Regions from separate parts of the Homo sapiens genome. Here region 1 is linked to region 2. The links are contacts of gene promoters, found by promoter capture Hi-C in blood cells and fetal thymus (Javierre and others, 2016). All regions are on one chromosome and are shown on one strand. Each heading gives the region's core, a stretch centred on a gene start or on the middle of the fragment in contact. The rest is flanking DNA. Distances are from core to core; before and after follow the strand shown.

Region 1 (3,422 bases), core at 355-2,854, 1.2 Mb before region 2:
TCCAAGTAGCTGGGATTACAGACATGTACCACCATGCCCAGCTAATTTTGTATTTTTAATAGAGACAGGGTTTCTCCATGTTGGCCAGGCCGGTCTCGAACTCCCGACCTCAGGTGATCCGCCTGCTTCAGCCTCCCAAAGTGCTGGGATTACAGGCGTGAGCCACTGCGCCCGGCCTAGTCTGCCTTCTTCTATTTCAACTCTAGAAACATTTTAAAGCTTATGTAACGCTCCTGACTCAGTATTTGCTATAAGCAAAGTATTACTTTTTTTAATCCTTTTGCATTGTATGTAAATCCTTAATTTAAACATGATATATCAGGAAACAGATTTTTTAAAATCTATTATCAATTGATGTATTATTTCGTCCTTACAGTTGAAAAAAAAATTTAGTTAATTAAATCTTTCAGCTTATCAGCATTTTTCTAAAGTTACCTAAATAGTGTAATGACATTTCAATTACCAAGCATGTCTGTTCATCTCCATGTCCTAATCGCCCTCCAGGACCATGACCACAGGTATAAACCTGCCCTTTCTGAGACAGAAACACGGAGTGAAATTTACAAAGCACCACCTAAGGGAAAACAAGAGAATATTATTAAACTTCTCTGAATAAAATATCCTTTATTTTATGAAAAAGAAATAGAATATTGTTAATTGTTTAAACAGGATAATGGATACAAGGGGAATTTATAAGACTTTAATTTCCACATTTTAAGTTTCCTGTAATAAAAATAAAAGATACATATGCTTTGTTTTAAAATTATGTCTAAAAACATTGACACGAAAAAAAAGAACAAAGAAAGAATTAAGCATGTGTTACCCACAGAAGAGATTACCCAAAGGAAAATATAATTTTAAACCTTCAATTCCAAAAATTAGTAGCCAGTTGTTTTCCAGTTTCATGAAATATCAAACAGTAAGAAATGAGCAAAGTGCAACAGGAAGCATAAAGATTACCAAATAGTGATATATGGTACTAATAAAAATAATAGAAACATCTTCAGAGTGTTTTCAAAAAACAATAAAGCCATTTATACATGGCGTAGGGGGCAGTATGTCCTTTTCTTTATCTTTGGTTTTATCAACATGTCTTTAATATACATTTATAATTATTTTAATAAATAATTTTATATTTATTTTCAAGTTTTTCTCTCCTTTCCCACTTCCTTTTTCCTTATCTGCCTCAATCTCAGTACACTCCCTTGCCCCTGATACACAGACTTACTATTCACATACTACAGAAGACAAAGATACTGAAACAGTTGAACTGCCTCAGCAGAACACAATAACAGGAAACCATCAGCAGTTTCAAATATATATATATTTACATATCTAACCCTGGGCCACATTTTGCTATTTTCCAAGCTCTGATATTCATTATACTCACTTTACCTTAATAATATTTTTAAAATCTTCTCATTTTTAAAGATTGTTTGCATTTATATTTCTTACAACATCTGCAAATATTTCTAACTTAGGATATAAAAAGATGAGTAAGAAATAAAGAAACCCTAAAATCATTTCCAGAAAGTCAAGGTCCTTTGGAAAACAAAAAAATTATAAGCTAGACAAGCTCTAAATATTTACACATACCCTAGACCGCTCGGAATTTTGTAAGCACAATATAGCTATCAAATAAAAAAAGTAATGCAAAGATTATTATCTCATTTAGCTGTACCACAAATACCTAAAAAGTTTAAAAATAAAATCCAAATTTGTATTTTAAATTTACAAGTTGTCAGTGAAATTCATTTTATGAAATAAGAAAGAATACATTTCATTCAATTTTATATTAAATATTAGAATGCCATCCTACAACTGCTGACTTCTACTACTAAACAACAGTTGCAATACTAGACAGTTTTAAGTTATCCAACTTTAAAAACCCCAGACTTTTTTTTTTTTTTTGAGACGGAGTCTCGCTCTGTCACCCAGGCTGGAGTGCAGTGGCGCCATCTCGGTTCACTGCAAGCTCTGCCTCCCGGGTTCACGCTATTCTCCTGCCTCAGCCTCCCGAGTAGCTGGGACTACAGGTGCCCGCCACCACGCCTGGCTAATTTTTTATATTTTTGGTAGAGATGGGGTTTCACTGTGTTAGCCAGGATGGTCTCGATCTCCTGACCTCGTGATCTGCCCGCCTCAGCCTCCCAAAGTGCTGGGATTACAGGTATGAGCCACTGCGCCCAGCCTAAAACCCCTGAATTTTTAAATAAGAACTGAGCATGGATTTTCGCTTTTAATTATCTGGAATATATAATACTAACATTAATAATCTCTGTCTCATGGTAGTTAATTAATTTGGTACTGTATAATATAGAATCAGCCCCTTTTCAATAACAAATGGGGCTCTCTATATAACTGGTACTCAATTAATATTCCCATACTTGCTTTCTCTTCCCTGACTGAAATTTATACTGATTTCTTTCCTTCAAACCTACCCACTGTGCTTGCTTCACCCTCATTCTGTGGTAAATAAAATCCCTTAGATCCTTAATACCTTCACAAAACACGCCCACTGCCTTGCCTTACCTGAAATGTGGCTTTCTCTTTGAGTACACTAGTTCACTCACAACCCTGGCAAATGGAATATGCTCAAATATTCCAAACTATATATTTCTTTGGATCAGACATTTCAATCACCCTCTGATTTCCTAATGCCATCATGATTCCCTCACTCTTGTCTTTAAAATCCCTGCTCCGTAACAGCTCATGAAATAAAGGTATATCATGTACTACCTCAAAAAAGGAAAAACAGGTGTCTTTCTTGTGCCACAATTCCAATCAATCATTAGTGGCTGCTAATGGTTGGATTATCATTTTAAGGAGGAGTCTGAGGACCCACTCAAGCTCAGCATGAGAAAAAAAAAACTGACTAGCATGTCTGCAAAAAGCTCTAGACTAGGTGAGCAGCTTGTACACTTGCTGCCCCTGCTCTGATTTCTCACCATCTTGCTCACCCCTCTCACATTCACTAAAGACTTGGACACCAAGCTTGATTCTCGCCCATCACAAGTCCTTTCATTATCCTAAGTTCCCTCCACATCTACAGAGAAGACCCACAAGAATATTAGCTTTCATGACACCATTCTACTCCCTACTTCTCTAGCCACTTTTCATTCCTATATGGGTTTTTATTCCTGTTCTCTCAAAATTTAATATTCTCTAGAGTTTAAGGATTCTATTGCTTTTTTTGTTCAATTGCTGGTTGTGATGCATTAGGTTGTGACTTTTAGTTTAAAAAATAGTGTTCTATGGAGCCCTAAATATAGTGGTCATATTATTTATCATGCAAACATTTTTGAGAATGAAAGGGGATACTAACAATTACACTAGGAAAATAATCATAAACCAGAACTGTCCTGGGCAAACTAGGGATATGTTGTCAAAGTAGCTCTAAAAACTGTCTAAGAATTCAATCT
Region 2 (3,108 bases), core at 78-2,577:
TAACTTGTTAAATAAATCATGTCTTTAAGTCATTAATATGATCAACAAATCATCAGGAACACGACAAGGAAAAAGCTGAGCTTCTGTTCTTAATGTGAAATGCAGTCCACCAAAGAGACAACCAAAATAACTAAACAAACCTCTGTGCTGACTGATGGCATTTTCAGACTCCTGAATAAATAGGAAATGTCCAAAGCGCACGCACACACACACACAAAAGGAACAATCCCGAGACAAACCTGGCTGTAAAATAAGTGTGGAAGCAAAATGATAAATTCGGAGGTATTTTTTATTTGAGAGACATCCCGAGTGCTTATATTGCATCACCAGTGAAGGAAAATGAAATGTTACCAGGATCCGAAAAGGAGTCTCTGAACAGGGTGTACACTGAATTCCCCTTTAATAAAAAGAGAGCAGCTCTAAACAAAATTTTTTTTTAACTTCCAGAAAGCCAAATTAAAAACAAAACAAAACAAAACAAAACAAAAGAAAGAAAGAAAAGAAATGGCTTTACCCACAGTCCCATGTCTGGGACAGAGTTCTTCTACCAAGCCATGCAAAGTGTCCAAGACAGAGGCCACCCACCACGCATTCCCAGACTCTTAACCGTGTCACTCCAGAAACCGAGAGGACTTGGATTTCCAGATTGCTAACGTGATCTGAAGGCACTCAGTACACGTTTCTGTCTGGGCAGGACCAGTTGAGCCACTTCTCGCCTTATCAACTTCCAATAATTGCCACACTGTGTGTGCAACCAGTAAGTGAGTGGCACATGGAGTCTGACCTGGCACTCCATTCACACACTTTGTCTGATACTACTTTCATTGTCTGGGCTCTTGTTTTTGGAGAAGAGCTGCCGAAAAGTATCACCTTTTCCTCTATCACTAACCTTTACCTTTACCTCTATCCCTAACATGGGATGCCGAGGTGCAGAGGCACCAGCACTGCCCTGCCATCACTCTAGTGGATACGGACCCGATTAGGCGTCCTTCTTCCTTCTGCCCACACCAAGGCCCCCCAGGCCGCGGCCGCTCACCGGGAACCTTCCCAGGGGAGCGGCGGAGGGGCGAGGCCATGGTGCGGGGACCTGCAAGAGGGCCCTGACCCTGATAGAGAGGGGCCGATGGGCGGCCAGGTGGGCCTGCGGGTTTACCTTGTTGAGGTGAGGGTTCCGTGTCAGCAGGTAGCCGCGCTGATGGGTGTGGCGGCGACGGGGGGCTTCGGGCTCCATGGCTGGCGCCGGGTTCGGCGGCGGGGTCAGGCCGGGGCGGGCCGCACGCGCGGTGCAGGCGGCGGATGCTGCTGGGGTGACGGTGCTGACTGCAGCTGTGGCGGCGGCGGCCGCACTGGGAAAGGCCCAGCGGCTGGGGGCGGGCGTGGGTGGCGAGAGGGGGTGGACGCGTCGGGAGGGGCCCGAGCGAAGCCGGTGTCCCCAGCAGGGCAGCCTGCGAGAAGCGCTGAGTCATGGCAGGAGATCATCCGAGCCGGCGTGTGAGGAGGAGGAGGAAGAGCGAGTCCTGGCAGCGCTGCTGGTGGCGGAGCGGGGGTGGCGGCCGGAGCCCTTGGCTCCATAGGGCCTCTGCCCACCATGGGCTTATGATCACCGCTGTGGTCGCCTCTCTCCATGTGGGCATGCCTAAACGCAGTGCACTGGGTGGCTCTGCTGACCCCAGAGACCCAGGGCGGGGGCAGGGAGCGGGGAGCGTCAGGCCAGGATCCCCCTGCCCGGGAAGGCTGGAGAAAGTGCGAGAAGATGCCAGAAGGTGCGAACCTGAGCGGTTCAGGCAGAGCCGGCGGTCGCTCAGACACCTAGGGGGATTACAGGACGGAAGGACTCGTGAGGGGTCCCCAGAACTGTTGACAGAACACCTCGACAGGCTGAGGAGAATCAGACTCGTCTCTCCTGTCTTGTTAGCGTCTTGGAAGCCCTCTTTCTACAGATCCACAACCTTCGCCGTGCCATCCAGGATGCCGGCCATGCCCGGGGCCCTGAGGCCGGAGGGAACCAACCTTGACCCAGAATGCCGAGGCCCAAGGGAACTGGGAGGAAGCCCAGAGAGGAGAGCTCAGGCGCCACACCTGTCAGTTTCTACAGATTTTCCACCGGAATTGTATTTGAATGTCAATAAGATAAGAGTCAAGGTGTTAGGGTGCAAAGGCCCAATGAACAGTCCTGTTTATCTTGTATATTATTTCTCTGGGAGTTCTAGAAACCTGATGTTCAAGAACCACTGCTCTCTCTGAATAATGATGAGTAAGCAGTCTTTCAGGCCTTCCTCCCAACCTCAGGTGATCCGCCCGCCTCCGCCTTCCAAAGTGCTGGGATTATAGGTGTGAGCCACCGCGCCGGGCCATTTTTTTATTGTTTTATTGATATTTATGCTTGGAGGTTCATGGACTGGAGGAATAGTCAGATCATAGCCAAAAGGAGTGCCTGTCTGATAAAAATAAATTAATAGCAACAGACACTAAAGCCTTCTGTGCCCCAGTTTCCTTTTCAGTTAAATAGGATTGCTAGTTTCTGTCCCATTTGTCTCTGCATACTGATATTACAAAGGATAGTGTTTGAGATTATTTGCTGATTTTATATCTCCATATACTAGACACACATCCAATCACAGTGTTTTCATTTCTAGTTATGTTAACTTTGCCTTATCAGAAAGATTTCTTACAGTAATTGTATTTTGTCCGTATTTACATTTAGAAGCTTCTTTGACCTCGCCTGAATTATCTAGAATTCGTTGTTTTTATAGAGAATATTTTCTAGGCATCACAAAGTTCTTTTTGAAAAAAATCCTTGAAGTTAAATGACACCTTTCATTGTTAATTCTATACTCCATAAATACTCAATCCTACAACATCTAAGAAAAAGGTGTACTTTACACAACTCACTCTCCTGAATTAACTGAGACACATTACAGTTAGGGTGTTTTATGTGAGAGGAAACAGTTTAACAGCTGGCATGGGAGCCAATTCAAGCTGCTTAAGAAGAAACAAAAATGTTAGTACAACAGACCCTTATTATAATAAAGTACTTATTACATGAATTTAGATATACTACCTACCTGTTCCTGTTTCTGAGATTTAATATCTACAGATAGGAAAAGT

The links. The method cuts DNA at HindIII sites, captures the fragments that hold promoters and counts their contacts. A CHiCAGO score of 5 or more calls a contact.
Region 1: a contact is called between a fragment that was not itself captured here and the fragment with the promoter of ME1 in region 2, in 1 of 17 cell types (M0 macrophages). The highest score is 5.0, in M0 macrophages.

What each region holds. Positions count from the first base shown.
Region 1 is chr6:82,226,729-82,230,150 of GRCh38, forward strand. IBTK (inhibitor of Bruton tyrosine kinase) reads right to left here. Exons shown (of 29, transcript NM_015525.4): 5 at 464-574. Among named protein-coding and RNA genes, the nearest start is that of IBTK, 19 kb to the right of the region's middle. RefSeq lists a silencer at 1,141-1,341. The HindIII fragment of the contact is 2,775 bases long and covers 218-2,992 here.
Region 2 is chr6:83,429,724-83,432,831 of GRCh38, forward strand. ME1 (malic enzyme 1) reads right to left here and starts at 1,328. Exons shown (of 14, transcript NM_002395.6): 1 at 1,154-1,328. The coding sequence starts at 1,231. RefSeq lists enhancers at 542-811, 1,432-1,601, 1,544-2,743 and a silencer at 1,032-1,221. The HindIII fragment of the contact is 4,994 bases long and covers 1-2,705 here.